Linked DNA regions of Homo sapiens: regions 2, 3, 4, 5 and 6 are each linked to region 1. Evidence: promoter capture Hi-C in human tissues and cell types (Jung and others, 2019). All regions are on one chromosome and are shown on one strand. The core of a region is centred on a gene start or on the middle of the fragment in contact, and the rest is flanking DNA. Distances in the headings are between cores, read along the strand shown. Region 1 holds the start of PLCB1 (phospholipase C beta 1). Region 2 overlaps PLCB1 (phospholipase C beta 1). Region 3 overlaps PLCB1 (phospholipase C beta 1). Region 4 overlaps PLCB1 (phospholipase C beta 1). Region 5 overlaps PLCB1 (phospholipase C beta 1). Region 6 overlaps PLCB1 (phospholipase C beta 1).

Region 1 (5,195 bases), core at 1,750-4,249:
ACCATGCTGCTTCAAGCATCATGCTACATGTTGAAGGTATTTATCCTGTAGTTCTCCTTTAACAAACTGCGTCATTTTGCTGGCTGAAGAAACTCTTGCAGCCCATGTTTGTCTTGAAGACAAATCCTGTTCAGATTTCTACAGCGTTCTCTCCTTTTTACGTCCACGTTCACAGCAACAGCTGGGAGGAATCAGGGATGCTAGATGAAATACTCAACTATCCATTGCCAATAATGGTGGTTACCAAATGACTCCCAACTCAGTGCCATTCAACAATGAACGTTTATTGTCATGTTCATGAGTCTGCAGGTTGGCTGAGTCTGGGAGATCTAGGATGGTTTCTACTGGACTTGCTTCCAAGCTGTAAATGGGGCTTAGGTCTGTCCTGATTGTCTCCTTAGATCAGAGGCTCCCTGAGGCATGTTTATCTCATGGAAATGATAAGAAACCCAAGAGGGAAAGCCCAACCTCAAAGCATATTTTGAGCCTTTGCTAATATCACATCTTCAAACATGCCATTGGCCAAAGCAAGTCACATTGTCCAACATCAATGGGATGGATAAATAAACAGGGTGTCTAGTAAAAACTGTAAGGTCACAAAGAAAAATGTGTGGACGCAGAAAGGAGCAGGGAGCAGAGAGCTATGATGCAATAAACTACCACAGGAGGCTCAATCTACTTCTTATTTTGCTTAGAGCTCATTGTAACTCTCCAATCTCCTCTTCTAGTGAGCGCAGCCCTGTCTTGCCTTCCTAAGCCACTGTGACAGGTAAAAACTATTTGGCCAATAATCTTTCCAGTAAATAACAAAGAGATAGAAGGAGAAAAGGAAAAGAAAGGAAAGGAAAGGAGGAAAGGAAAGGAAAGGAAAGGAAAGGAAAACAATTTGGTATGATCAGTTGTAAGGACAATTGAGAAGTTCTGGAGCCCTGGAAGCAGAGTTTCATTGCAGTACTCTGAAGTAGAGAAAATCGACTTGAGACGGTGACTGATACCTTCTGTGAGGTAATTAGCAAGCCAAGGCTGCTGGCTAGAGGGACTGTGGACCATTCAGGTTTTAGTTTAGGGACATGTGATCAAAATGAAACCAGTCAGTTTTTCATGAAATTCTTTGTAGCAATTGGCTTCCAAGCACAAGGCAAGACCCTCAAATGACAGCAAGAGTCATGGGTCTTGTTCACCAGGTTATCCATGGTGATTACAATAGTGGCTAGTATACAGCTGGCTACCAATAAGTATATTTTAAATGCATTGAAATATTTAATAGCAAATTTCTGTATTGGATTTTGGTAATCTTTTGACTGAGTTCATAAGCATTGGGCCTTGGAGTCCTGAGGGCAGAGAACAGGGAGAATGAAGGATTAAGAGAATGTAGTGTTTCTCTCCATTTTTCTCTCTTCGTATTCTTTCTTCTTTTTAAAAATCAACCTTTTTGAGATATAATTTATTTAAAACAAACTGCACTCAATTTAGGCGTACTTACAGAACTTACAAGTTTTGATAAACACACACACGATATAGAACATTTCCGACATGCTCATCAGGTGCTCGTAGCCCTTCCCTGTCCATCTCTACCTATCCCTGGCCACAGGCAAGCTTTCTGTCAACATAGAATATCTTGCCTATTCTGCAATTCCTACACATGGAATCAGGCAGCATACAGTCTATCGTGTCCGGCTTCTTTTACAAAGCTTAAAGTCGCGATTCATCCCTGATCTTGCATGCCCACTCATTTTTATTGTGGAATAGTATTCCAATATTTGGGCATACCACAGTTTGTTTATCCATTCACCTGTTGATTGACATTTGCAGGCTACTAAGAAGAAAGTTCTTCACATCACTTTACAAGTCCCTGCAGACTTGAACGTTTTCATTTCTTTTGGACAAATACTTAGGAGTGGAATTTCTAGGTTGTATGATAAGTAAATATCTTACTTTATAAGAAACTATTCTCCAAAGTGGTTTTACTATTTTATATTCCCTCCAGCAATGAACAAGAGTTCCAAGCTATTTCTCTCTCCGCCCCCCCACCTCCCGCGTGTGTCTCTCTCTCTCTCTCTTTCTCTCTCTCACACTCACTCACTCTCTCTCTCCCTCTCCTCTCTCTCCTTAATAAAAAAAAAAAAAGAGTTCCAGTTGCTCCACATCCTTTCAAGCATTTGGTATTACCAGTCTTTAAAATTTTATCCATTCTGGTCCTCCTCTTTCCCTTCTTCCCTCCCTCCCTCCCTTTCTTTCTTGAATTGAGAAATGTTTGTGGAAGGAGTGAAGACAAACATTCCTGGACCTATGTTCCTAAATGAGCAAGTTTCTATTAATAAGACTCTCCCCCACCCGCCACACATCCTACACACTCAAGGAGAGGAGCGGGAGAGGGCACCCTCTTTCTTCCTCGGAAAATAAAACCTTTGCTTTCTTTAGGATGGGCTTTCTGTCTCGAAAGCACAACGTAACCGTTTGCCCGGGTTTCAAGATCAGCGCGCTGCAAACTCTCAGGCGCGGCCAGGTTTCCTCAAAGAGCCTCTCAACTGCGCTCTTCTCTGCTGATAAATGATAATTCTCTTCAAAAAGCTGGTTTGTGGCTGGCGCTGGAGAGCTCCAGCTAGAGCCAAAAGCCAGGGGTTGCCTCTTTGGTTCCTCCCGATGGGCCCCTTTTCCCAGCCAGTTGGGATCCAAAGACGCTCCGGAGCTCGAGCCCAAATTCCCAAGAAAACCCCAAAGAGCGTAAGGCTCCTGGGGACCCCTAGCACCTCTGCAACCAGGGCACGGGGCATGCTCAGAGCGAATGCGGGAGGCAGGCGTTGGCTGCAATGGGGCTCGGGAGCCAGGAGGTGCCGCTGCGTCCCCGCTTCCTGGCGCCTGACCCAGCGTGCAAAGTTGGGCTGGGAGCCGCGGGGGGAAGGAAGGACCCAGCGAGCGAGGGTGGCGGGGAAGGGGGGCGGGGGGGAGGAGGAGGGAGGAGGGAAAAGAGCGGTTAGGGGGGGCGCCGGGCGTGTGTCACTCGCTCTCTCCCTCTGTGTATAGAGGATGTGCTGAATGGTGCGCTTTGAGGCGGCGGCGGCGGAGGAGCAGAATCCGCCGCGACTGGCAGCCTCGGCTGACCGGCTCGGCTTCTCTTCGCCTTCCGAGGCTCCTCATCCACCGCGGGCTCCAGACCTCGCGTCCCGCCCGGGGCATGGCCGGGCGCTGCGCCCCCGCGCGCTCTGCCTGCTGAGCGGCGCCGGAGGGAGGTGCGGAGGCCGGGAGGCCGGGGAGGCCGGCGGGGAGCAGAGTCGAGCGCCTCCGGAGCAGAGAAAGGAGCCCGCGCCCCGCGCCCCGCGCCCCGCGCACGGTCCCCAGTCCCTGCCGCGCTCGCCCGGGCCGCCCGGAGCCCAGATGAGCCCAGATGGCCGGGGCTCAACCCGGAGTGCACGCCTTGCAACTCAAGCCCGTGTGCGTGTCCGACAGCCTCAAGAAGGGCACCAAATTCGTCAAGTGGGATGATGTAAGTATTGGGGCGGCCCGAGTCGGGGCGCTGGCTCGGGCACCGGGCAGGGCGGGCGTCGTGGGGGTGGGGCAAGGGGCGCGTTATGCAATGGGCGCACTGGGAGCGGGCAGGGGCAGCCTCGGGCGCACAGGTTGGCATCTGCCAAAGCGGATGTCCAAGGGCAGAAGCTTTGCGCGCGCTCCTGTTTCATCGGGCTTCAGTAGTTGCCATCCTTTCTGGGTCTGGCAGGCGCCCCCTGAGGGTCTTACATCTTTTGGGCCAGTGGAGAGGGAGGGGCAAGCTTTGCCTGGTGACAGGTCCTGAGAGTTCGGAAAGTAGGGAGTGTGAAGTTGGGACCAACTGGAAAGCGCCTGGTGTGAACAAATCGCGTCCCTCTCCGCCTGCGGACGCACCCCCTATTACCTCTTTTGCCCGATTTCAAGAAGGAAGGACCTGAAGTTCAAAACACTTTAGTGATTGCGAACCCTCTTGGCGCTTTTGTGGGAGCCAAGGCGGCGGAGGACACAACGGTCCAGCCAACAGGTGGTCGTTGATGCCAAACTTCAGCGCCTGGCTCCGGAGTGAGGGTCCCTGAAAAGGGCTGCGGGGACACATCTGGGGAGGGCGTGAACAGAATGGGGGCCCTTGAGGGGTCCTGGAGGGCTCATGGGCCTGCAGGCAAGTGGGGAGGGCTGACTTTTGAGAACTGAGCTGATTGGAGTCTTCTGCCTGAAATAGACAGGTTGAGAGTTTGCCCCACGATTTACCTGCACCGTTTGCCAGGTAGGGCAGAGCCTAGCCCAGCGCCGGGGTCTCTAATGCTTTACGAGCGGCCCAGACCCCAGGACTTCAAATGACTTCCCCTTCCCCTCTACCCCAGTTGTCTTCAAAACACGTAAATTAGTTATCCAGCTGAAAACATGCGAATCTTCGGATGGAGAACATTATGGTATCAGTTTTATGTCCTGGGTGTCATTCTAAAGGTTCGATAAGAAAAACCTACTGAAATAAACCCGAGTTGCCAGGCTCTAAGCAAATTTAAGTCCAAATGACTAATACATCTCTTAATCAGAAGGAATTATAGGAGAATGAGGCGTTCTTCTTGCCGAAAAGATTTTCCACCTAGTAAATTATAGCCTGTTATCCTCTAGGGTATTTTTCTTTAATCTTCTTAAGCCATTTTCCAGTGTCTGAAAACAATTTAAATATTCCAGGTAGTGAATCCAATTACTTAGCTGAGTGCGTCTGTGTCTATATTTTGTCCAGCTGGAAGCGCAAACGGAACTTGGAGTATGAACCACAGCTTCCTTGAAAGCTCGTGCCAATTATTAAATGCTGTAGGCAAGGATGTAAACATACATCTTTTTACCATGGGCTTCACACTTTTCTTCTTTCTGTTCCAGTCTAATTGTACTGAATGTTTCTGTAAATGGAATAGAATCTAAACAATAAATTCAGACGCAGATTAAATGCTTTGTGTCAGGGAAAAAAAAGACAAAGAAAATGCAGTTCAGCAATAAACAAGACGGTCTTGCCCATTTTGAGATCCTTGAATAGAGAGGTGATGTGATGATGGATTTACTGAGAAAGAGAGTGAAGGGCAGAGGAAAGAGAAAGAGACTTTGCAGAATTTAGAAAAGGGAGTTTCAGCGTAAGCTCTGGATTTGTATACAGTGATGATTCTAAACTGTATTTTAAATAATTCTCTATAATTTCTTGTTTGGGAGAG
Region 2 (5,195 bases), core at 1,982-4,481, 490 kb after region 1:
GCAGTGTGCTGAAGCCAGCTTGTACCAGTTCATGAGAGCCAATTGTTAAATGTTTGCTAAATTTGCTACAGATTGATACACACAGCCATTATGATAAATTAAATAATTTAAACTTAAAGCTAAATAAATTATACTAAAAATGCAGGTAATGAATACTCAAAACTCATCACTTTCTAATTATTTTATTAAATGTTATGATTAAGTATGATTTTGAGGCTATTTATAGTCTTGTAGCTCTATGGTGAAATTGTGTGCTACTTGATCTTTTTTTCAATTCTGAATTCAGTGAGATCATCAGGGTGGCTTGAAATTGGCTATGTTGGGAGTATTTACACCATGGAAAACAGTAAATGCTAACATTCGGGGATTTGGAGGCTTTTGTTGTTGTTGTTTTGGGTTTTTTGGTTTTGTTATTTATTGTTTGTTTTGATTTGTTAAAAGCCTGTTGTTGAACATTTACCGGCATACCACAAGAGGCAACCAATTCATGGCCCAATGTAATCTGTCTTTTTGTACTTCATTGTTGAAATTACCTAGCAATACTAGGAAATCTTAGGTCGAAGTGGAATTGTGAATCTTCCAATCGTCTAAACCACATTTCTTCTAAACTACATTTCACAAAAACATATTGGGTGGGACTCGTTTGAGAAAAAAAGGTTATATATATATCTTTTTAATCCCATATCATATACTGCTATTTTTTAAGTACCTAAGATAGTGTTTGGTATAAATTAACCATATAGAAAATATTTGAATAAATTAATTATAGGAGTCAAGAAGTATAATAATTTGAGTTAATTCTTGACAATAGGATGATTTGAATTCTCTTCATATAAAATGGGTGGCATTATAATTCATTTCAAAATATTTCATGCATTAAATATCTTCTTAGGAAGATGCAAGAACACTTGACTTCCCAGTTTTCAAAGGATTTTAAAAATCCTCTGGGAAAATATTGGTTGGGGAGAGAAATGATGGCTGTGAAGAGGGAGATGAAGAGAAAAATGTGAAAAAAGTGAACGAGATTTGAGAACAAAAGGAAAAAATAATTGCCTAAAAATTAATCAGTGCAGGCCAACAACTAAAAGAAGTGACTAATGTCCTGGGAATATTTACTGCTTTTTTGTAAAATTTTTTTAAAATTAAGAGAGCTTTACACTCCTTAAATTTCCTTTCTATTCCCTATTTAGAATTGTACTGGCTGGGTGCAGTGTGTCACACCTGTAATCCCAACACCTTAGGCAGGCAGAGGTGGGAAGATAGCTTGAGCCCAGTGGTTCAAGCCCTGCCTGAGCAACACAGTGAGACCCCATTTTCCACAAAAAGGAAAAAAAAAAAGTTAGAATTGCACTAACAATTCTGGTGATAGCTTTTACAATCATATAACATAACTAACAATAGACACAATCACATAACTCACAAGACAATTTTTTTCTTATTGAAAATTGAGGTCTTAGAGATGACAACTTTGGTCTTCATGTATAATGTGTTTTGATGGATCAATAGTAAGGCATTTTAGAAGACATTTTCTTACTTTCACCTCAAAAGAAGCACACACACACACACAAAGGCATATTGAAGACGGGGCTTATTTAAATGCAACTAGTTATTCCTTATAAAAGTAGACATCAAACCTTATCAAGGCTTTGAATTGTTAAGATCTTTATATCCCTGTGTTTCTGATGGTATATTATTGATTTTTATGTATTATAGAATATAGTTAACCCATGTGTATCTAGAGTAACACAAAAGGTATATAAATAAAACAAAGGAAATAAATCTGAAAATCAAATAGTATTTACTCTTAGAATATTTTTATAACTTTCAGCAAATACGTATTCACATCTATATTTAGCTTTATAGATAAATTACCCATTTACTTCAAACTCCTTCAGTTACCTGTAGTGAACTGGTGGGAAATTTTCTCGCTCCTTTTAACTCCTACAATCATTTATAATTTTAAGAAGAAAAAGAGGCCGGGTGCGGTGGCTCATGCCTGGGAAGCTGAGGCAGATGGATCATGAGGTCAGGAGTTTGAGACCAGCCTGACCAACATGGTGAAACCCCGTCTCTACTAAAAATACAAAAATTAGCCGGGCGTGGTGGCATGTGCCTGTAATCCCAGCTACTCAGGAGGCTGAGGCAGGAGAATTGCTTGAATCCGGGAGGCGGAGGTTGCAGTGAGCCAAGATTGCACCACGGCACTCCAGCCTGGGCGACAGAGCAAGACTCTGTCTAAAAAGAAAAAAAAAAAGAAAAAAAGAAAAAGATAAGTATAAGCTAACATTTATTTCACTGCATTTTTTCATAGCATTCTTAAAATAAGTAATCATGTCAGACTCCACAAAAATGTATTAATTCTTTATGTACATGTGATACATTAGAGTTTGAGGATTTAATTTTGATCACCACACTAATGATATAAGGTGAACAGACATTGCTATTATCATTGTTAAAGCTTTGAGAATATGAGTTGCCTAATTTACAAAGCTAGTTAAATGGAAGAACCAGGAACTGAAAAGATCTAGAAATGACTTGTCCTTTAGCACTCTTTAAATTAAGCTTCCCATGGAAAAATGAATTAAGGGAAAAACAAAATTAAAGTGCAAATGTTTAGAATATAGGTAGTCAAGTATACACAAACCATGAATATATTCCTAAATGTGCACACAAATATACATACTGATCGACAAATCTCAAAGTAAGTAAATGGATATACATACATATACTAAAATGTTCTTGTCTCTATAAGAGATTAAAGTATTCAGTATGTTCCCCCCATATTGTGTTTCATTTTCATTTGTAGAACTTTTCAGTGTCTGGTTCTTCCATTTAACTAGCTTTGAAAATTAGGCAACTTGTATTCCCTGAGCTTCAACTTAGTTTTCCCTCAAGGTGGATGATAATAGCAATGCCTGGTCACCTTACAGCATTAGTGTGGTGATCAAAATCAAATCTGCAAACTCTAATGTGTCACATGTACATAAAGAATTAATATATTTTTGTGGTGACTGACATGATTGATTACTTATTTTAAGTATACTACCAGCTATTAATTTTTTTTCAAGTACTCACAACTTGTTATGTGCGGCTCTCAGCCCTTAACATATAATGATTCATTTATTTCCCATAATAACCTTTTTAAGGGGACACTACTATTATCCTCATCCCACAGTTTGGAAAACTGAGGCACAGAATGATTAACAAAATTTTTTAAGTTCACATTTCTTCAAACGACAGAGCCGGAACTCAAAGCCAGACAGAATGCAGGCTGTCTGGCTGGGCACGGTGGCTCACACTTGCAATCCTAGCATTCTGGGAGGCAGAGATGGACAGATCACTTGAGGCCAGGAGTTTGAGACCAGCCTGGCCAACATAGCAAAAACTCAACTCTACTAAAAATACAAAAATTAGCCAGGTCTGGTGGTGTGCACCTGTGGTCCCAGCTATTTGGGGGCTGAGGCCTAAGAATCGCATGAGCCCAGGAGGTAGAGGCTGCAGTGAACTCAGATTGCACCACTGCACTCCAGCCTGGGTGACAGAGAAACTCTGTCCCCTGCCCCCACCAAAAAAAAAAAAAAAAAAAAAAGAAAAGAAAAGAAACAGAATACAGGCTGTCTGCTGTTTTCCTCCATGTGTCAAAAGCTCACAGCATAGATGATGGATTTTCTTAACAAAGGGAACATCGTGTTTGTCATTATTAATAAATTGTCATCCTCCTTTTTTGATATGTTTGATTTTAAATTATGCTCTGAGGTTTTAGAAGCCCCTTTGACACATCTAACTATAGCACAGTACCATGGAAGGAAGTAGATATCATTACAAAATAGGAAAACTTAAATCTCACCAATAAAGAACTCATCAACTAGGGAGATGCTGCGGACTCATTGTAAAAGTGTCTGTGCATTCTATTAACAAACAGGCGTCATTATGATAGCTAGAAGCATTGACCTTGGATGAAAGTTGAGGGGAATATAATGCTTTTCATGCTTTGTCGGGGGTTTAAACAGGAAGGCACATAGGATCCTAATTGTCTGCTTTGCACACACCATTACCCCTCAGGGCATGTGGATTTTTTATGCATTGCAGTGGTAAGGGCTGTGCATACAAATTTTGCTGGCAGACAGGTGGTAGCATATGTCAAAAAGACTGGGGGGATAGTTTAAAACATGGCTGAAAAGTTGTCTATACTTTAGAATTTTTAAGTTTGACAAATACTGACTCAATGAGGAGGAAAAAGCTAACTACTTTTTCCATTGACTAGTTTTCAAATTGCTATAGTTCATGCACTTTTATTTTCAGCAAGGATGATTGTACAAATAATGATTAAAATTGACCATTTAGCTTCGACTCTTTGCTAGGAAGGCAAGCACTTCCATGAGACCACCTTTCTTTCCTATTTTGATTTCTCATATGCATTATTTTATATTTTTAACAAACTGCCTAAAATATCGCTAAACAAGGTAACTTGAATGAGTGCTATTTAAGTTTTATTCTGCCAATTGAACTATTTGCACTATTTTATATAAACTGCATCAAATTGGATATACTTTGTAACACGGTGTGATATGGAGAGGGCTTAGAGTTTACCATCAGGTGTACTTGGATTCAAATCTCCCTTTACACCATTTTATAAAACTGAGCAAATTACTTCATCTTTCAGCACCTCATGTGAAATTGGAATAACAATAGCTATTTCTCTGTGTTAGTTTGCAGATTAAATAGGTGGAAGAAGATACAGAACAGCTGGTGTGGTAGTTGACACAGTCACTAATTAGAAGAACTTGTTGTTATATGTATCATTTTTATAGAGAACTGAACAGAGTCAGCACTTTGGGAGGCCGAGGCAGGCGGATCACGAGGTCAAGAGATGGAGACCACCCTAGCCAACATGGTGAAACCGTCTCTACTCAAAATACAAATTTAGGGGGTGGTTGGTGGCGCGTGCCTGTAGTCCCAGCTACTCGGGAGGCTGAGGCAGGAGAATCGCTTGAACCAGGGAGGAAGAGGTTGCAGTGAGCCAAGATCACGCCACTGCATTCCAGCCTGGTGACAGAGCAAGACTCTGCCTCAGGAAAAAAAAAAAAAAAGAATCTTAGTAGCCTATCTGATGAAATTCTTTCAATTATAGATCCCATAGAATACATGAAGATTAATCAATATTGAGATAACATTTCCTTATTTCCTATAATCAC
Region 3 (5,195 bases), core at 2,006-4,505, 460 kb after region 1:
GTGACCAAAACAGACTCATATTCTACCTTTGGAATTTACACTCTAGTAGCATGTGGAGAATTAGACAGTCCTTGCCTTTGAAAAATTCAGCATCTTGTGGGGAGATGGTCCCTGTCTTAATCTGTTTGGGCTGGTATAACAAATTACTGTAGATTGGGTGGCTTACAAACAACACAAATTTATTTCTTACAGTACTAGAGGCTGGGAAGTCTAAGATCAAGGTGCCAGCAGATTTGGGGTCTGATGAGAGCCCACTTCCTGGTTCGTAGACAGAAGACCATCTTCTTATTGTGTCCTCACATGGTGGAAGGGGTGAAGGCTCTCTCTGGGGTCAATCTCTCTCTTTTTTTTTTTTTTTTTTTTTTTTGAGACAGAGTCTTGCTCTGTCACCCAGACTGGAGTGCAATGATGCAATCACAGCTCATGCAGCCTCAACCTTCTGGGCTCAAGCAATCCTCCCACCTCAGCCTTCCAAGTGACTGGGGCTACAGATGTGTGCCACCATGCCAGGCTAATATTTTAATTTTTTTGTAAGGATGAGAAGTCTCATTATGTTGCTTAGGTTGGTCTCAAACTCTTGGCCTCAAGTGATCCTCCCACCTCAGCCTCCCAAAGGGCAGGGATTACAGGCATGAGCCACCACAGCTGGCCCTTGTGGTCTCTTTTACAAGGGTACTAATCCCATTCATCAAGGCTCTACCCTTATGACCTAATCAGCTCCCCAAGGCCCCTCCTCCTAATATCATCACTTTGGTGGTTAGAATTTCAAAATATGAATTTCGGGTGGGGACATAAACATTCAGTTCATTGTAGTCCCACTTAAACTGATGGTTTCAATAATATAATAAATGTAGAGAAAAGGAAGCCTGAACACGGAACTTTGAAAGGGCCTGGTAGGAGCCTGGGAATGACTCAACTGAGACATCCTTGAAGAATTCCTGTTTGTTTTTTGTCCAGAGAGTGCCAAGGAAATTCCCAGCACAATGTACCTATGACAAATTCGGAAGTCGTATGTTGGGAATTAATCCTGCTTTATTTTCATCTCATTATATGAATGTAAAATATATAAGAAATATCAGTTGGGTTAATTTTAGCTCCTTTTATGGAAATTTAATTATTTATACAATAAATTTAGTTCCTTAAAATATAAAATCGATGTCACCTTTTTCTTTGCTCTTTGGTAGTTTTTTTTTGTTGTTGTTGTTGCTATTTCTATTGCTGCTGTGACAAATTACCACAAACTCAGTGACTTAAAACAACACACATTTATTATTTTACAGTTTTATAGGTCAGAAGTCTGACGTAGAGGTTACTTGGCTAAGATCAAGGTGCCAGCAGGTGCATTTCTTCCTGGAGGCCCTGGGGGAAAATCTGTTTCCTCACCTTTTCCAGCTTCATAGACCCCTTCCTCCAACTTCAAAGGCAGCAAGATTAGGCTGAGTCCTTCTCATGCTGACATGTCTCTGGTTCTTTCTTCAAATTCCCTCTTCCACTCTAAAGGGCCCTCTTGATTCCATTAGGCCTACCTGGATAATCCAGAATAATCCTACTTTAATTTTTTTTTTAAGTTCTGGGGTCCATGTGCAGGACGTGCAGGTTTGTTACATAGGTAAACATGTGCCATGGTCATTTGCTGCACCTATCAACCCATCACCTAGGTATTAAGCCCAGCATGCATTAGCTATGTTTCCTAATGTTCTCCCTCCCCCTCCCCGACCTTCCAACAGGCCCCAGTGTGTTGTTCCCCTCCCTGTGTCCATGTGTTCTCATTGTTCAGCTCCCACTTATAAGCGAGAACATGAGGCGTTTGGTTTTCTGTTCCTGCGTTAGTTTGCTGAGGATAATGGCTTCCAGCTCCATCCATGTCCCTGCAAAGGACATGATCTTGTTCCTTTTTATGGCTGCATAGTATTCCATGGTGTATAAGATCAGCTGCTAGCATGCTTAATTTCATCTTCAACCTTAATACTCACTTGCCATGTAACCTAACACATCCACAGGTTTCCAGGATTAAGACATAGACAACTTTGGGGAGCCATTATTCTGCCTACCACATGGGTTTACTTAATCACCAGGGAGACAAAGTAGATAATAAGCACAAAGTAGATAATAAGCAAAAGAAGCCAAAAAAACTTCTGTGTGTCCTGCAACACTAAAGAACATAAAGAATCAAAGAGCTTTATTTTTCATCTAACTCAGTTTGGTAAGATTCCAATTTAGAAGCTAAGGTAAAGGAAAACTGACTTCCTATGGTACAATTTAAATTCAGTATAAATTCAGTGCTTGCCCAAGTAGAATGTCCAGCTGTGGGTACGGAGCAAAGGTGTCAGTAAACTGTATTCACACCCAGGGCACTTAAGAGACGTTATTTTTTGAGACTTGCAATTGATATGCTTTGCACTGTAGGGGCCACGTGGGAATTTCCACCTGAGAAGCATTTGTTGTTAAGCACTTTTTTCCCCTGTCTTTGCTTCAGATTGTATACCTTCCAGGGACAGATATCAGTATTATACATAGCTCTTTGTATATTTTGGGGGGTGACTGAGAAACATATTTCATTACATGTAACTTGCTGGCCATCCCAAATATTACAGTAACAATAACCGGTACAGCTTGGGTATCCCATATCTGAAATGCTCAGGACCAGAAGTGTTTTGAATTTCAAATGTTTTCAGGTTTTGGAATACTTGCATATACATCGTGAGATATCTCGGAGGATGGAACCCAAGCCCAAACAAGAAATTCACTTATGTTCCATATACACCTTATACATGTAGCCTGAAGGTAATTTTATACACTATTTTAAATAGTTTTGTGCATGAAATAAAGGTTTTGTACATTAAACAATCAGAAAGCAAATGTGTCACTACACTATCTCAAGCCCATGTGGCCAATCTTTGACCACTATCATCCCTGTCTCTGAATTTATATGTTACTGATGAGCAATCATCTTCTTACACTTATTCACACCTAAGTACCTAGTAAAAAAATTGACAAACCATTAATACAGTAAAAAAAATAATGTGTTCAGGATAACTAAGCAGCAAAGTAGCATCACCAGATTACTTGTATTTTATCACTATTACCCATAGAGGTATCTGTAGGCCTTTTTGACATTTTCAACAATATCTTTACAGAGCAGAGAATAAGCAAAAAGTAATGCATGCAGGTCTTGGCTTCATGTGGGACATCATGGGGAACCTATTGTTGGCATTTCTGGCCAGCATACGTGCCATTTTATTAATTGTTCTGGGCAATGCTTACAGGAGGGAGTCTGGATAAGGGCAGAAAATATATATTGCAACTGAAGGGGCCTGAGAGGGTCTTTTTTTCCCCTTGGAGAAGCCGAATAAACTGTGTGTTGTGCACCTGCATTTTGACGGTGACTCGTCACATGTGATCAGGAGTGGAATTTTCCACTGTGGCATCACATCATCACTCAAAAAGTTTCAGATTTTGAAGCATTCAGATTTTGGAGTTTTGGATTCAGGATGCTCAATTTGTATTTCTGTTTTTAATCTAGCAGTTACACTGAGGGCCAAGACTCTATGTTAAATGCCCACCATATATTATCTGATTTAAACATCACAGTGATGCTGCAGGGAAGGCCCTGCAGTGGCCATTCTCAATGCTGGCTGCACATTAGGGCCCCCTGAGCAGCTCATGAGATTCCGGAAACCCAGGCTGCACCCAGTCCAGTTAATCAGAATCTCTGAGGGTGGGATCCAGGCCCCTCATTTTTTAAAGCTTCCAGGATTTTCTATCACACAGCCAGGGTTGAGCCTAGATTCATCTGATTCCAAGCCCAGATATTTTTGCCTGCTGAGTAAGTAGTATAGCCCAGGCCTTTCCCCATCTTTTGCCCCAACTCTCTCACTCACAGGCCCTGCCCCCCATATCTTACACGCATACTTAGTTTTTAAGAGACAGAGTCTTGCTCCGTCACCCAGGCTGGACTGCAGTGGCAAGATCATGGCTCACTGCAGCCTCAACCTCCCAGGTTCAAGCGATCCTTCTGCTTCAGTCTCCCAAGTAGCCAGGACTACCTGCACAAGCCACCATGCCCATCTAATTTGTGTGTGCGCGTGTGTGTGTGTGTGTGTATGTGTGAAGACAGGGTCTTGCTCTGTTTCCCAGGCTGGCCTTCAACTCCTGGCTTCAAGCAATTCTCCTGACTTAGTCTCTCAAAGTGCTGGGATTACAAGTGTGAGCCACCACACCCAGCCCCATGTAGGCTTTTATTCCCAGTTACATTTTTGCCCACAAAATGAAAATTATAAATTTTTGAAGTCCTTAGTATAATACCAATGATAATCTGACATTGTTTCTACTGAAAATAAACATTACTGTTATTGGCATTTTACTTTTGTTTTTATTAGATTTTTTATTTTTATTTTTTTAATGGGGTGAGGGAGGTGTCTTTATAAGTAACAGTGATAGTAATTTTGCAATACTAATTTTGATAACTAAGAATGTATCATTTTATATACCAGGAATTTTATGGACTTTGCCTTGCATGTTTTGTGACATTTTTTCGGGGAAGATTCTATTATCAGGAGGAAACTGAGGCTTACTTTCTGCAAAGACACAGCCCTGACATTTAAGCCCAAATCTGTGTTATTTTATTTTATTTTAGAGGCAGAATCTTGCTCTGTTACCCAGGCTAGAATGCAGTGGTACAAACATAGCTCACTGCAGCCTCAACCTCCTGGGCTCAAGTGATCCTCCACCCTCAGCCTCCTAAGTAGCTGAGAGTAGAGCTGTGCACCACCATTCCCAGTTAATTTAATTTTTTGTTATAGACAGGGTCTTGCTATATTGCCCACGCTGGTCTTGAACACCCTGCCTCAAGCAATACTTCTGGCCTCAAGCAATCCTCCACCTCAACCTCCCGAAGTGCTAGGACTACAGGCATGAACCCTCATGCCTAGCCCAGATCCATGTTATTTTAGGACATCAGTTTATAGCTTCTGTTTGATGTATTCTAAACTCGACCGAAAATAAAACTCTCTTGAGAAACTTGTTGCCCTCCTGAAAATTCTGTCTGGAATGGGACTTAGCAATAGGATTTTTAAGTTTGGTCCATGGTGTTCCTGGGCTACTCCACCACGCTACAATACATTGCCTTCAATCAGGGCTTCTCAAACACTCATGTGCTTGCAAGTCATTGGGGATCTGGTTAAAATGCAGAACCT
Region 4 (5,195 bases), core at 1,690-4,189, 420 kb after region 1:
ATTGGCTCTTTTCCATCCTCTTTCTTGCTTTCCCACTCTTCTACCCGTATTTTCTCTGATCACCTCCCAAATAAACTATTTCTCTAGAACTCTTGTCTCAGGCTTAAATTTTTTCTGCAAAAGGGAATGCCTTTGGATTTCTGTAAAAGGGTCTGCTTCAAGGAGAAATGCAACCTGAGAGAGAAGGTCATGGTTTTCACAAAAGGCTGTGGTTACAATGAGATTTGAGGCTTAAATCCAGGCTTGTGTAAGACTGTTATGTGTTACTAGTTGTTAAAATATTGAGTGCTTTTATGCTTGTTTGCAAATAGCTACTTCTCCCAACTCTGCAGTGGTCATGACCACTTCATGGTCATCCATTCCTTCCCATGATTCAACAACTAAAGTTTATTACTTGCCACAACAGGGGCTTCTAAGACCCTCATTAAATGCTATGGGCACCAACTGTTTGAATGATTGGTGTGCTTGCTATGTGAATTATTAAATATTTTAAATATTATTTATGTTTAATGTGGTGCCCACCAGACCCAGATGTAACGTACAGCTTTTCCTTGGACAGTATAGAGAAGACCTTGAAGTTATGTTCTTTTAACTCAGTCTTTAGTATTTCTCTGCATGAAATCCTTCAGCTCCATGTCCAGTTGCACCGTGGTAGATTTGCAGGGAAGTGGATGGATGAAAGAGACAGGAGAAGGAAGAGAGGACAGAACAATCAATACTTGATGATGAACTTCTGGGAAACTGCGAGCATTTCCATTTGAAACAAATAGAGTGTTTCTTATACAATAGCCATATGTATTTGTAAACAATAAAATGCCTGCTAGTGTACAATGGATTGCACTTCTCTGATATTATACTTATATTCTTGGCTCTGCTTTTTTTCTGGATTCAAAATATTCATAAGAAATGAAATATGGAACCAAAAGTCACACATACATACACACACAGATACATTTTATAGTAGATACTTGCTGCTTGGCCCAGATATGTTTTGTGGATTAAATTCTAGGCCCCATGCTGGATGCCAGACTCACTACCCATGTTTAGACCCCTAGACATCAGACATTTACTGCCTGGCCCTGTGCTCCCAGCTGCCCATCCAGGTGGTAAGTTTTATATCTCGAAAAGCTTTTTCAGGCTGATTTCATGGTGAATATGTGTTAATCACCTCAGGGAGTTATTGAGAATTTGGGATAAACTTGATTGGGTGAACAAGCAGCATGTGTCCAAATATAGCTATTCCTGAGCTGTATCTTTGATATATTTGATGATGCTTGAAAACAGTCCGATTTACATCCATCGCTGCATTATAAAGAACAGGGCTGAAGATTTATAAGTTGAATTTTGTTGCAAATGCCAAAGCATGGGCCACAGATAAATCAGTTACCAGAATAAGGGTGATTTTATAACCTGCATGTGTTTTATAGTTTCTCATGACACAATAATCATAAAATTCAAAAGGCACACTCTTGCAAGTGTGAAAAGGCAATTTCAGGGTTCCTTTTGGTTTCTGCTATTGCAAGGCAGGATATAGATACAGTTTCTCACTATTTAGATTTGCTATTGAAGTTTTAGTGGAGTGCCAAAGATTTCAGTCAGCAAGTGTCAGTAAATGATATCAACACAGCTCCAAGTTCAAGGTGGAATCGTTTCTTGAAATAAAGTGAGCATTTGGTGCCCAGAAATCTTGTTTTAAAATACACCAACTTCTCAGTTTTGGAAGAGCTCTTTATTTTTTAAAAATAGATTCTTATTATGTAAGCATACAACTTTTCTTGTATGTTCCTGTTGCTCGTATTTGTACACATACACAGTGAAAGTTATTTTTAAATCTTTTATTCTTATCTGTAACTGCTGACAGCATTTGAGGTGTGGAAACTTTTAAGACTGAAAAATCAAGTAAAGGAAAATTCAAGCAAATGAATACAGAAAAACATTATCATTAGGAGCCTTAATAAAACTGCTGTTTAGCTTGTCACGCTGGCACATTCCTGTAATCCTAGCACTTTGGGAGGCTGAGGCGGGTGGATCACTTGAAATCAGGGGTTCAAGACCATCCTAGCCAACGTGGTGAAACCCTGTCTCTACTAAAAATCAAAACAATTAGCTGGGCATGGTGGTACATGCCTGTAGTCCCAGCTACTTGGGAGGCTGAGGCAGAATAATCATTTGAACCTAGCAAGCAGAGGTTGCAGTGAGCCGAGATTGCACTACTGTTCTCCAGCCTGGGCAACAGAGCAAGACTCCATCTCAAAAACAACAGCAAAACTGCTGTTTAACTCCACAAAAGTCATTACACCACTATACATTCACTAAAATTGCTAAAATTAAGGAAAAAAAAAAAACAGTAGTAAGGCCAGGTGTTGGCAAGATTGTAGAATAGCTGAAACTCTCATACAGGGGTGATATAAAATGGTACAACTACTTTGGAAAACTCTCTGGCAGTTTCTAATAAAGTTAAATATGTACTTACCTCTCCTATGGCCTAACAATTCCATTCCTAGGTATTTACCCAAAAGAGATGAAACATATATCCATATAACAACTTGTAAAAGAATGCTTATAGCCCCTTTATTCATAAAAACCCCAAACTGGAAACAACCCAAATTTCCACCAACTGGTAAATGAATAAACACATTGCGGTATAATCACATAATGGAATACTACTCAGCTATAAATAAAAATGAATTGCTAATGCATTCAGTCTAGTGATGAATCTCAAAATTATAGTGTTTTTGAAGAGAGCTGAAGAGACACAAAATGGACCATACTCTACACTTCCATTTATATTAAGTTTAAAGACAAGGAAATATTCTGCAGTGATAGAAACCAGAATAGTAGCTGATTGTAGAGTACAAGAGGACTGATTGGAAAGGAGAACATTCCAGAGAGAGGAAGTGTATTATACCTTAGCCTGGATGATGATTGCATGGTCATATACACTTGCCAAATTGCATTGATCCATATGTTTATGATTTGCATTATTTGTATATAAATTATACCTCAATAAAATGCTGTTAACATAAAAAAATTGCCCAGCTTCTGAGTTCTTGCTTAATAATATTAGTATCACCTGTTGCTGTTCTACGTTAACTCAGGAGCTAAATTCAAATTCAGTGTATGACAAAATCTTATTTGTGTGAAATTACTGGGACGTGTACTTTTGCATTTAAGAAAATGCTCCAAAAAACTGAAGATTCTCCCTTCATGTTAGAAACTTAAAAATAAAATAAAATAAAATAAAGATTTTTTTGGGAGGAAGGGAATCTTAAGTTAAAATGTCACAAATCTCTCCTATCATGTTAGTCACTTTTTTCTTGACTTGGCATTTGCTTGGTTGCCTTAAGCCTTTGTCTATTTTTCAGAGTTCTGACAGAGTTGAGTTTGATAATTTTTGCTGGTTTTATCAGTGTTTTCGTGGAGAAATGGGCCCTTGGGGCTCCCTACTCTGCTGTTTTTGCTGACTTCACCACCAACCCTCATATTCTTAACTCTGTATCCTTAATAGGGTTGAATGGGTTTCAAAAGGCAAGGTAGGCAATGGATCATGATACTAAGTCAATGATAGGAGCTTTGAAGTGAAAGAGGTGTTTCTAACAAAAAGTAGATACACACTCTCCACCTACACTCCTCTTCCTCCATCATATCATACAATTCAGAAGCAAGAAGAAAACACAAACTCATAGACTGAGGCCATCCACCACTACCTGAAATGCTGCACCTCACTCAACATGGGATGGGGCTTCGATTGTTATGATTTAAGCACTTCTGAAAACACACTTTCTACTTCCTGTTTGGTCTTAAGTCTTCCCTGGAAAGGTCATCTATCTCCATGTATTTCCTATAAATATCTACCTCTCTTATTAAGTGTTACATTCAAATGTGACAAATTAAAATCAAGTGGAAATATTTTGTGTTAATGATAAGGTAAAGCCAACTGTGTATGTCAGAGTAGAATATGGCATGTGCTCTTATCATAAATATTACAGGAGCTATTTGTTTGTCAGGGCTTCATCAAAACATCTGAAAATTGCTTGACTTGGAGGAGAATAGACTATAATTTCCATGTCTGCCCCAAATAATCAGTCATTGACAACTTAGAAAATTCTTATCAATAAAGATGGAATCAATTTTTTCTATTCCACAAAATGTAAGCATATCATTTTGAGACAAATTTTAAAATCGTTTTAGACTTGACAAATTACATGAAAGAGACACTTAGTCAGAAATGATTTTTTTTAATGAAGTGAAATTTAATAAGTGACTCTGAATGTCTGTTGATGTGTTGGGAAGCCCATCTTTGCTTGACCAAAGATTTATCCAGTAATAATCAAAACATCTAAGTTAGTCTTAGAATTTATATATATTTCCCATCCTGGCTAACACCCTCCTCAGCATGGCAGCAGTAGGAAAGATGGCGGCCACATTCTCTCTATGGGTACCTGATTCTGGAAGGAGCAGAGCAGACCTTATTACCAAAGAATTGTGTTTGTCTGTTTTGACCTGAAGAGTCCCTAAAAGTACTTGCCTTCGTTTTACCTAACTTGGAACTCTCTTAGGGCAGAAAAGCAGCCATGTAGAGGACATTCCTCCAAAACATAGAAAGGTAAATGAACAAGCCTCTGCCACTTAGGGCAAAAGATGATAGTTGTTATAAACAATAGACAACCCTAAATACTGGAAGGAAAAGCTGGAGAATGAGTTACTTTAGAGAATAATTGCTTTGAAAAAGATTCCTTATAATAGAAAACCTAAAAAGTGATGCATATGCCCAGGATAGGACCTATGCTCAAAAGATTTGAGAAGACACTAAGCTTTCACCTTCAGCTTGAGATCTTAAGGCTTCACAACAGCAGGAAATGAAGGCTAAGGCAGAGTTGTAAACAGCCAGGCTAGGAGAGGGTTGGGTGTGTGTGTGTGTGTGTGTGTGTGTGTGTGTGTGTGTGTGTGTGTTTGCTCTAGGCATTTAGGGAAATCTGCCAAACCACTAGCTAACCACAAGCTAACAAAATAGAGACTTCAGAGTCCATACAACAAAATATATAGCCTTTAAAAATAGTCCGGAAAAATGAGCAAAGTGTTTGAATAGACATTTATCCAAAGAGATATTTAAATGGAAATAAACACATGAAAAGATGCATAACATCAGTAATCCCTCAGGAAATGTGAATCAAAACCACAATGAGATACCACTT
Region 5 (5,195 bases), core at 1,551-4,050, 380 kb after region 1:
TAAATTCTTTACCCATTTTTTTAAAAAATTCGATTCTTTGTTTTCTGCTATAAGATTGTTTGAGTTCCTTATATATTTTGGATATTCACTCCTTATCAGATGTGTGGTTTGCAAATATTTTCTCTCGCTCTGGGTTGTCTCTTCAGCACAGAAATGGACAGTCGCACGTTACCACCTGTATGATCATTATTTTAAACACAAGCAGGAAAAGCTTTTGGGTTCCAAAGTTTCAGTCATTATGATTGAAAAACTGCCAAACTGGTAGTGAAACATTTATTGGATTGGGGATTAAGCTATTCATTCTTTTCGCATTAAAACAATGATGTAGTTTTATTCGTAAATCTATAAAGTTAAGTGCACAGTCATCACTTTTAGTACGTTCTGATTCATTGAAATCCTGTAAAATTTTATGGAAAAATCTGTGTAAACAAGCTTTAAATAAGGCAATATTCCAATACCAAAACTCGGGATTTAGGCATAGGTGCTATATTTACAATTCTTAAGTAATTTTCATGTATTTCACATATTTTTAAAACTCATGTTACAAAATAGCCTAATTCTCTTTACTTTCTGTGTATGAGGGAGGAATTAACATTTTGTAATATAAACCTCCCAAAAGTTATTCAGAATATTTCTAAAATAAACTGTTTTAGATTCTTGGAGAAATTCTGTGATGTCAAAATCTCTTTCCTTTTTTTAAACAATAAAAAACATTGTGGCTTTGTTTTTTTAATTGATAAATAATAATTATATACATTTATGGGGTGCATTTATGGGGTGCAATGTATACATATATCAAATTTTACCCCATATTGTACATTGGGTACAATCTGTACCCTCATAATACAAATTGTACCCCAATGTACAATATGGGGAGCAATTTGATACATGTATACATTGTGGAAGGAGTAAATCCGACTAATATATCCATTACCTCACGTACTTATCATTTCTTTGTGGTACAAACATTTCAAATTCATTCTCTTAGCAATTTTGAACTATACGTTATTATTAACTCTAGTCACCTAATGTTTAATGGATCACCAGGAATTATTCCTCTTGTCTAATGGAAACTTTGTACCCTTTGACCATCATCTCCCCTTTTACCTCCCACCCTCTCCCAACGTCTGGTAGCTACCATTCTACTTCCTACCTCTACGAGTTCGAATTTTTAGATTCCACATATAAATGAGATCATGTAATATTTGTCCTTCTGTGCCTGGCTTATTTTACTTAGTATAATGGCTTCATTTTTTTAAAATGTTTAAACCAAAGGTTTCAATACATAAATCTAGACACAAACAAGTACTGTGTGATTCCATTTTTTATAAAGTTCAAGAACAAGCAAAGTTGATCAAAGACAAGAGACAAGAAACTTTCAGTAGTGTTGGACATATTCTTTAATCTTTGTGGAGGCCACACAGGGATATAGATGTGAAGAAATTCACTAAGCTATGCAGTCAGTATTAGAGCCCCTGGATGTACATGTGTTATGCAGTAATGAAGGGCACACACACACTCATTCATTCACACACAGCAAAAGCAATCTATGAAGTGACAACACGACACAGTGAACACTGTTTTCATGGTAAAGTTGCAATAAGACAAATTACATTATTTTTACAGTATAAACAATTATATTCAATTAAATGCACGAAGTGTGCTAGAATATATTGGATAATTCGGAACGAATACCTATACTGCAGGTGCTGAAGCCAAGAGAGAAACATCCCCATTGAAGTATTGTAAGAATTCTGTCCCCCCTGCCAGTTGCTATGAGATATCACTGAAATATGGTAGTGTTTTCTAAAATCTACTGCATGAGGATAGGACAAACATGCTTTCAGTGAAATGATAAAACGCTACCAGAACTAAAAGAAACAAAAGTGGTCAGGTGCAGTGGCTCATGCTTGTAATCCCAGCACTTTGGGAGGCCAAGGCAGAAAGATCGCTTGAGCTCAGGAGTTCAAGACCAGCCTGGGCAAAATAGTAAGACCTCTGTCTCTATTAAAAAAAAAGTTAAAAATAACAACAAAAAATTAGCTGGGCATGGTGGTGTGTGCCTGTAGTCCCAGCTACCAGGAGGCTAAGGTGGGAAGATGGCTTGCCCCAGCAGGTTGAGGCTGCAGTGAGCCAAGATCATGCCACCCCATTCCAGCCTGGACAACACAGTCCCTGTCTCAAAAAAATCAAAAAAGAAGAAGAAGAAAAAGTATTTTAAACCTGTCATTAAGAAGAAAAAAGATGTAATTACACACTTAGGGAGGCCAGAGTGGGCAGATTGCTTGATCCCAGGAGTTTGAAACCAGCCTGGGTGGGCCGGGCATGGTGGCTCACGCCTGTAATTCTAGCACTTTTGGTAGGCCGAGGTGGGCAGATTGCCTGAGCTCAGGAGTTCGAGACCAACCTGGGCAACACGGCGAAACCCTGTCTCTACTAAAAATAGAAAAATTAGCCAGGCGTGGTGGCGTGAGCCTGTAGTCCCAGCTACTCGGGAGGCTGAGGCAGTGGAATCACTTGAACCTGGGAGGCGGAGGTTGTAGTGAGCTGAGATTAGGCCACTACACTCCAGCCTGCGCTGGGCAACAGAGCGAGACTCCATCTCCAAAAAAAAAAAAAAAAAGGAAAAAAGAAACCAGCCTGGGCAACATGGCAAAACTCCATCTCTACAGAAAAATACAAAAAAAAATTAGCAAGGCATGGTGGTGTGCACCTGTAGTCCCAGCTACTCAGAGGCTGAGAAGAAAACAGATTATCTACCGTAATAAAGCAAGAAACCCAATCCCTAAACAATACTGTGCCCCATAGAGTAAAGCCGTTTCATTTCTCTTTTAGTACTTTTTCTACCCTAACAAAGAAAATTGTGGCTAAAAGTTAAAACAAAAACAGTATCTTTTTGCTAGTTTCATGATATATCTTGTATGTATGTATGGGTGAATATTCTTATATTATTATTTTTGGTTCATGTAAAGTAATTTTTCCAAGTGAATATCTAAGACCAATGCTTCTGAAACTTTAATAGTCATACAAATCACCTGAGGATTTTGTTAAAACTAATATTCATCTCCAGGAGTTCAGGGGTTAGGCTAAGATTCTGAGTTTCCAATAAGTACCCAGGTGATAGTAATGCTACTGGCCTACACACTACTCTTTGAGTAATAAGGTCTTAGATTAAAGTGGACTTGGGCCCACTAACATTGATTAGCTTATGACAGGAAGACAAAAAACAAAAACAAAGGAACAAACAAAAACATAGAAGGTAAAATGTTAAAATCAAGGCACAAAGTATTGCTGTATGGAAAGTGTCTGAATTTTCAATATATTCAGCCCTGGAGGAAGAGCTTCCCACTACCACTTATTTACTGTTTCTGTTCTAAACTGGCTATAATAGCCCTTCAATTATAGAGCTGTTTCAGTAATAGCATCTGCTTCATTATAACAGCAGTTTTATTAAACTAATAGTTGTTAGCATGAAGACACCATTACAGTAAATTACATTTATAATTATGGCTCTAAATATACTCAGGTTGCATACAATTATTAAAAATTTCCACCCTAATCATTTACCTTTCCTGAAGCTTTCCTCCTATCACATAGATGCTGTGAGCGTGTGTTAGTGTATGCAGGCTTTTCTATGAGGCTGCTTTCCTATATCCCATACAATTATTCAAACTGATGCCTGGTGTATCTAGAAATTTGTATTCCTAGCTCAGAGAGCAGCTAATTAGAACCTCCTTCCCAATCTCTACTTCCCACAATCTGGGTCATTTCCTTGTTTAGTGCCTTGATCAGAAATAATTTATTGTCTGGTTGTGCATGGCTTTGAGGGAGGCACAATATAAAGAAAAGTTCATATAAGAAATGTGCACATTTAACATCAATGCATAACAAACACCCCAAAGCATAGTGGCTTCAGCTAAAAACTGTCTATCATTGCATTTGGGACAGCTGGGAGTGCTTATCTAGATTTGGCTCAGCTGGGCAGGTTAGTTAAGGTGGCTCTGTTACACAGTGTCTTTATTAGTCTGTTCTCATGCTGCTAATAAAGACATACCCAAGAATGGGTAATTTATAAAGGAAAAAGGTTTAATGGATTCTACATGGCTGGGGAGGCCTCACACTCATGGCAGAAGGCAAAGGAAGAGCAAAGTCACATCTTACATGGCAACAGGCAAGGGGGCGTAAGGAGGGGAACTTCCCATTGTAAAACCATCAGCTCTTGTGAGACTTGTTCACTAACATGAAAATGGCACAGGAAAGACCCTCCCCCCTGATTCAGTTACTTCCCATCAAGCCCCTCCCACAACACGTGGGAATTATGGGAGCTACAATTCTAGAAAGACTTGGTCTGGGACACAGCCAAACCGTATCATCATCTCACATGTCCCCTCTGAGCCCAGGTCCTCCTGGCAGTGACCCAAGCACATGAGAACACATTCAACCATGACAGCACATTTCAAGCCTCCGCTTCATTGCTTCTGATAATATTACTCTGGCCAAAGCCAGTTACATAGTTAAGCTCAACTTGTGTTAATTTTGCCCACAATGAGGCCAAAGCAAGTCACATGGCCAAGATCAACATAAATGGAGCAGAGAAGTGTCATCTCCTATGGAAGTGAACAGAAATGAGTGATCATTTCAGAACAACAACCTACTCTATCAGAGATAGTTTCCCTTTTATACATGTAAGTACAATAATGTTGAAAGTCTCTGAGTTTATTTTCATAACATGCTAAATAGCCACAGTCTTATTTAGCCAAATTACAAACATTGGAATTGCATGGTTTCTTTTAGAATCTAAGGTTTTTATAGAAAATATAACATCATATATATATATATATATATATATATATATATATATATATATATATGTATTCCATTTTGATGCTATATACTACTAGTCAGTCACCTGTAAGAGTTTTTGACTAAAGTTTTCGGCAAGATAGATATAGTTGAGTCATGGTCAAGGTGAAAAGGGTATTCACTCAACAAGAAAACCATCCATCAAAGATTTCCTATGTGCCCTTTGTTACGGCTGTGCAGCTAAGTACAACACAGTTCCAGGCTTTACAGTTCTTAGAGTGTTTACAGACAAATAAGTAAGATGCTCAATATGAGGTGGTAGGTCCTGTGTACTGGGTGTATGCCAGATTTCACAAGGAGTGAGTTTAACCACTGGACAGCAGAGTGGGTGC
Region 6 (5,195 bases), core at 1,908-4,407, 290 kb after region 1:
GGGTGAGTCATAATAGTGCTTGAACTGCTTACTTTAAATCTTTTCCCAAATGTGAACAAAACTTACCCTGCTGATTGATCTGTTGATTTTCCCATTCATGAAACAAACAGAGTCCTTACATGGCAGGTGGAAGGGCATTAAGGTTTACTCAGCATCTCTAGTTGCAGCTGGATGTGTACCTTATTTCTCTGTAGTAAAAGAAGTCTTGACACCTGAATTAAAAAATTATCATTAAAAAGTTTAAAGGAAGGAAACATTATAAGTGTTCGAACTAGAAAATGATGTTGACAATTTATTGCATTTGGCCCCTTTCCATAGGTCTTAATTTGGAATCCTGCAAAAGCTGACTCTGAGAAAAGCACTTGTATACAGGTGGATTATTTGAAAGTGATCCCAGGTACCATAGTGAGTGGAGTAGGGGGAGTGAAGCAGAGAAAGGAGAAAGGTCATTAAAGTGTACTTGGATGAGTGGGCCACTGATACGAACAACTGGGGTTCAACCCCTCTTGGGGCCATCTGAGAGGCTGGGCATGTAAGGGAGGAAGACATCAGCATGTGTGGGAACTGTGCACCTAAGCTGCAGGAGTCACCTTAGATGGTGGACATGGTGTAGGACACCAACAGGGTCTTGTACACCATAATAGGAATTGCTTATGTAATGGGATCCTACCCTTCATGTGGGGCAGAAAAATATCAATGTCTGCTGGGGAATGAAAACCAAGATCCAGGGCAACACCATGAATCTGGTAAAAGTCTGCTAGTGGTCAGTTTGCCTTAGGTAGGTTGTTGCTCTTGGCCACAGGGTGTAAAGGAGGCTTTGGACTTAGTGATCCCAGAGGTTATTCCCTGCTCTCATGCCAGTATTCTTCTGCAGCTTTCCTCATCAATGTTTATATATTTCTTTCTTTTTTCTGAAACTTGCTCTTTCACTCTGTCTCTCCCCTAGGGAACACTAAAAATAGCCTGTAGGTTAAGGAATCTCCAAAACACAGGTGTGATTTGTTTGAAATTCTGTTTGACTCATGTGTGTTGAGTTACTTCTAAATTCAAGGTATTGTGACTACTTGAATGATATTTTTTAGAAACAAAATAATGAGAAAACTTGGTCTGACAAGGGAGATTTTTCTGATCTTTGTATGCATTTATTTATGATTATCTGAAGCGTGATGTAAAATAACTTATGTATATACATAGCACAGTGAGTTCTGGATGGAGAGAAGACTAATTATTTATAGAAAAAGTCTTTTTAATGTAAAAATATTACATTGAATTAGATTTAGTTACATATGATCAAATTGTCATTTCTAAATAAAACAAAATTCTGAAGGCTGTCCTTGAAAATCAAAGAGATGTGTCACACTAGCTGCGGGGGGTGCAAAGGTATGCTCACTAACATTAAGTAATTTACTGTCCCTTTGGAAGGTAATATATATTCCCCTAAACAGGAAAAGTAAGTTTGCAAGGGAGCATGGTTTATGTACAGTCACAGGAGTAGGGCTTGTAAAAGATTCTGTAGATATTGAGGAGGAGGTATGTGTGAGACAGAGCATGGGATTTAACATGTATAGTAATGACCTGCTTGGAGATGGAAGGATTTGAGCCAAGTTTTGAAATGTGAGGGTTTTGTTTAGAGACTCTTTCAGGAAAATGAAGCAAACAGAGCTGAGCATCATCCTGGTAGCCTGACTGAAGAGTACTTGGCAAATTAGAGAAGATATAGTTGCAAATGGCAGGGAAGAATGTGAATGCTACGCATAGTGCTTTTGGGAAATAGTCCTTGATGGTGTCTCTTTTACAGTTGAAGAGACAGAATACACACACACACACACACACACACACACACACACACACACAGAGTCGCTTCAGCTGTAAACACATATATATGTAGTTTTAAATACATATATGTGTATACACACACACACACACACACACACACACATATATATATATATATATATTTTTTTTTTTTTTTTTTTTTTTTTTTTTTTGAGATGGAGTCTCACTCTGTCGCCCAGGCTGGAGTGCAGTGGCGCAATCTCGGCTCACCACAAGCTCCGCCTCCCAGGTTCACGCCATTCTTCTGCTTCAGCCTCCTGAGTAGCTGGGACTACAGGCGCCCACCACCATGCCCAGCTAATTTTTTGTATTTTTAGTGGAGACAGGGTTTCACCATGATACACTTATATATTTTTTGTCTCTGGTGTGTGTATATATTATGTATACACACACATATATAACATACGCACCCACATTTATAACACACACATATATATGTATATAACAAATCAAATTTGATCTTAGCACTAGGACTCTGTTGTACCAATAATTCAGGGTTTTTTTTTTTTAGTTCTAGGTAAAAACAGTGTCATTGATTTACTATCAGTGAATTCATGCAAATTCATATATTTGCATTGGTCGAGTGCCTTGTACTACAACTACAATGTTGAATAGAACATGTTCTCTCTTTTAGGGGAGCTCAAGATACAGGCAAACAAATGACTACACTTCAGAGCCATGTCATAATAAAAGTGCCCATGAAATGATATACAATCTAATTCTAATCAGATTCTCCAATTGACTTGCTATTTTATTCCTGTTCTCAATGGACTCCCATGTACTTTGTAAGGAGACAGAATGTCTGAGCAGAGAATCTTTAGAGAGAAAATCGTCAAATACCATCTTGGATACCAAATGTCCATCTTGTACTTGTGAATAATAATTCAGTCTAGCAGGATGTCCTCTTGCAAACTGAAATGAGCCTACAGTCCCATCTGTGGGAAAACAAGAGGACTCCTAAGTGTTACACACAGGATGTTGCTGATCTTGGGTCACCTGGCTAGCACAGGGCAGCTGTCTGCAGTCCTTTACCTCTGGCTGGATTTCCTCCTTCAACTTCTAAAAGTCCAAGGCTTGAGGACAGTTCCCTGGTGAAGATCACCAGCATCTTCTGTGGGCCAACTGAATTGCTGAGGTGGGAAGTAGTAAAAGTCAGAGTTAGGGTCTAGTTTGTCCTCCCTCTCTCTCATTTTGTGTCCAGCTTTCTTTCCCAACTGCCAACCTTGATTTACAGTTCAGTTAAGTCCCAAAAGTAGATGCAACAGCAACAATCTTCAGTGGACTTCAACAGTTCCCTCAGTTTTGTAAGAGTGAATTGCTCTGAAAATCCCCGATTCTGTGTCACTCTAAGTGGCTCTGCCTCCCTGATCATGTGTCAGCTGCATTCAATCCTAGCACCAGCCCAACCTTCAGGCCACCTCCACCATCACTCACTGGGCGATGTGTTCTGTGCTTGAATATCTTCAGAACATGCAGATTTGTCCTAAACAGGCCTAGGAAATGAATATACAATTATACATAAATTTTTATTTTATCGAAATTTGTTGTGAGTAAAATGGCAGTCCCTTATCTACTGATGGAGTACCTTCTAAAAGCTTTCCTTCTTATTCTTTATCAAATTATTCATTTAATATAAATTACTTATATATTTTTATGTATTTTATGTATTTTTTCAGAGATGATCATTTGGGTTTTGAAAAATTATATTGTAATAAAAAATCAAAATATTTACATTTATATGAGGATAATTCCTTTGTCCATGAATTTATGGACTTATTTAATGGTAGTCTAATTTTCTTAAAGCACTAAACTCTAGAGGCATGGGTTGGCTGAAACACACAGATGACTTTGTTGACTCTAACCCAACTATCCTAGAGTAAGATTGGTTCTACTGGGTGAAATGATCCCTCTTCTCCAATGCTTCTGATACCCCATTTCATTGTCTGCCTACACAGAGGGGAGAGGGCAACAGCTGAGGTTTCTTACAGTCCCAAGAGAACCATTTTTAAAACTCAGTCTATATAAAATATTTCCTGGATGTTTTCACCAAAGCTCATTAATGTAATTTTCACATCATTATTGCAGCTAATGATCATGTAAGCGTTCCTGATCATGTGGAAAATTAAAGATGTTAAATTAAAATATTGACACTGATGTTAGTAAGTAATGATTGTTTATAAGATGTCTGGATTTAAAAGCTTTGTTTACTTAATTTGTTAAAAATGGAAGTTTACTTGTCTTTGGTGTAGAAAATTAAACATGTGACTCTGAACTTTGTAGAGTGCTTAACAGCTTTTATAATACTTTTATAGGGGATTTACATTTGTTATGGGAATAGTCTTTTTACTGACTCTGCTTATATTTTCAGAAATGTGTCTTTAGCCACTAGCCGAGGACAGACCAATAAACAGCATCCAAAAATGTTAATGATTATATATGGTTCCAGAATTTACAATGGTTTGTGTTATGATTTTTTTTAATTTTACAGTGGCTGGAAAGTGAAACACATTCAATAAAAACTGTATTTCAAATACCCATACAATGATTCTACTTTTCACTTTCAGCACAGTATTCAATAAGTTGCGAGAGATATTCACATTTCACTATAAAATAGGCTTTGTGTTAGATAATTCTCCCCAACTGTAGGCTAATGTAAGTGTTCTGAGCATGTTTAAGGTGGGCCAGACTAAGATACGATGCTCAGAAGATTAGGTATAATAAATGCATTTTGATTTATAATATTTTCAACTTACAATGGGTTTATCGGAACATAGCCCCAACATAAGTAGAGAAGCATTTTTATTATAGTGATTTTACATGGAGGCAATGGCAGGAAATGGAACCAGCTGTTCAAAAGCATACTTTGTTTGTAACTTAAATGTTTATACATCCAATCTTCTTATAAAGTTTGAATTTTTTTAAGATAACTATACTAGACTTAATGTTGTGGTGGGTTTGTGACTGTCCTTGATTTTAGTCCTCAAATATCTATAGCAGCAGCAGTTTGTATCTGAAATTATTACAAGGGGATTTGCCTATTAGAAATATGCCTAAGTTCCATTATTCATTAAGGTCACAGCAGCAATTCTGATTAATGGAGCTGATTCTTGATAGCTGTGAGGATACTTCCAATACATATTATAACTTTTACAACAGAGAAAGCCCTTAATTTCCTTACCTGTAAAATCTGAGTAATAATTCCTGCCCTATGAATTGTAATGAAAATGAGAGAAGCTCCCAAAATGATCTAGATGAGACAATCAGGTGGAGATAAGACCAAGATGCTAGGAAGTCAGCTAGCCACTTTCTCACATCTAGCAAACTGCTCCTACCTACTATCCTTGCAAGAGGCAGAACTC

Evidence for each region. Contacts are between HindIII fragments. The study calls those that stand out against the background at their distance.
Region 2: a contact is called between a fragment that was not itself captured here and the fragment with the promoter of PLCB1 in region 1, in 5 of the 25 tissues and cell types used here (dorsolateral prefrontal cortex, heart left ventricle, mesenchymal stem cells and 2 more).
Region 3: a fragment that was not itself captured here is called in contact with the fragment with the promoter of PLCB1 in region 1 in 1 of the 25 tissues and cell types used here (liver).
Region 4: a contact is called between a fragment that was not itself captured here and the fragment with the promoter of PLCB1 in region 1, in 4 of the 25 tissues and cell types used here (hippocampus, lymphoblastoid cells, mesenchymal stem cells and 1 more).
Region 5: a contact is called between a fragment that was not itself captured here and the fragment with the promoter of PLCB1 in region 1, in 5 of the 25 tissues and cell types used here (bladder, dorsolateral prefrontal cortex, lymphoblastoid cells and 2 more).
Region 6: a fragment that was not itself captured here is called in contact with the fragment with the promoter of PLCB1 in region 1 in 6 of the 25 tissues and cell types used here (adrenal gland, dorsolateral prefrontal cortex, heart left ventricle and 3 more).

The regions. Positions count from the first base shown.
Region 1 is chr20:8,129,267-8,134,461 of GRCh38, forward strand. It overlaps PLCB1 (phospholipase C beta 1), which reads left to right and starts at 3,000. Exons shown (of 32, transcript NM_015192.4): 1 at 3,000-3,484. The coding sequence starts at 3,386. RefSeq lists a silencer at 3,086-3,225. The HindIII fragment of the contact is 4,653 bases long and covers 341-4,993 here.
Region 2 is chr20:8,617,181-8,622,375 of GRCh38, forward strand. All of the region lies in intron 3 of PLCB1 (phospholipase C beta 1), which reads left to right. Among named protein-coding and RNA genes, the nearest start is that of RNU105B, 210 kb to the right of the region's middle. The HindIII fragment of the contact is 7,376 bases long and covers 1-5,195 here.
Region 3 is chr20:8,589,268-8,594,462 of GRCh38, forward strand. The region is part of intron 3 of PLCB1 (phospholipase C beta 1); the gene reads left to right. LOC124904868 (a long non-coding RNA gene) reads right to left here. Exons shown (of 2, transcript XR_007067522.1): 2 at 1,251-1,526. Among named protein-coding and RNA genes, the nearest start is that of RNU105B, 240 kb to the right of the region's middle. The HindIII fragment of the contact is 5,443 bases long and covers 535-5,195 here.
Region 4 is chr20:8,551,750-8,556,944 of GRCh38, forward strand. All of the region lies in intron 3 of PLCB1 (phospholipase C beta 1), which reads left to right. Among named protein-coding and RNA genes, the nearest start is that of RNU105B, 280 kb to the right of the region's middle. The HindIII fragment of the contact is 5,772 bases long and covers 54-5,195 here.
Region 5 is chr20:8,511,840-8,517,034 of GRCh38, forward strand. All of the region lies in intron 3 of PLCB1 (phospholipase C beta 1), which reads left to right. It overlaps LOC124900459 (a long non-coding RNA gene), which reads left to right. Exons shown (of 2, transcript XR_007067518.1): 2 at 1-666. Among named protein-coding and RNA genes, the nearest start is that of PLCB1-IT1, 270 kb to the left of the region's middle. The HindIII fragment of the contact is 4,959 bases long and covers 322-5,195 here.
Region 6 is chr20:8,415,117-8,420,311 of GRCh38, forward strand. All of the region lies in intron 3 of PLCB1 (phospholipase C beta 1), which reads left to right. All of the region lies in intron 1 of LOC124900459 (a long non-coding RNA gene), which reads left to right. Among named protein-coding and RNA genes, the nearest start is that of PLCB1-IT1, 170 kb to the left of the region's middle. The HindIII fragment of the contact is 3,341 bases long and covers 1,488-4,828 here.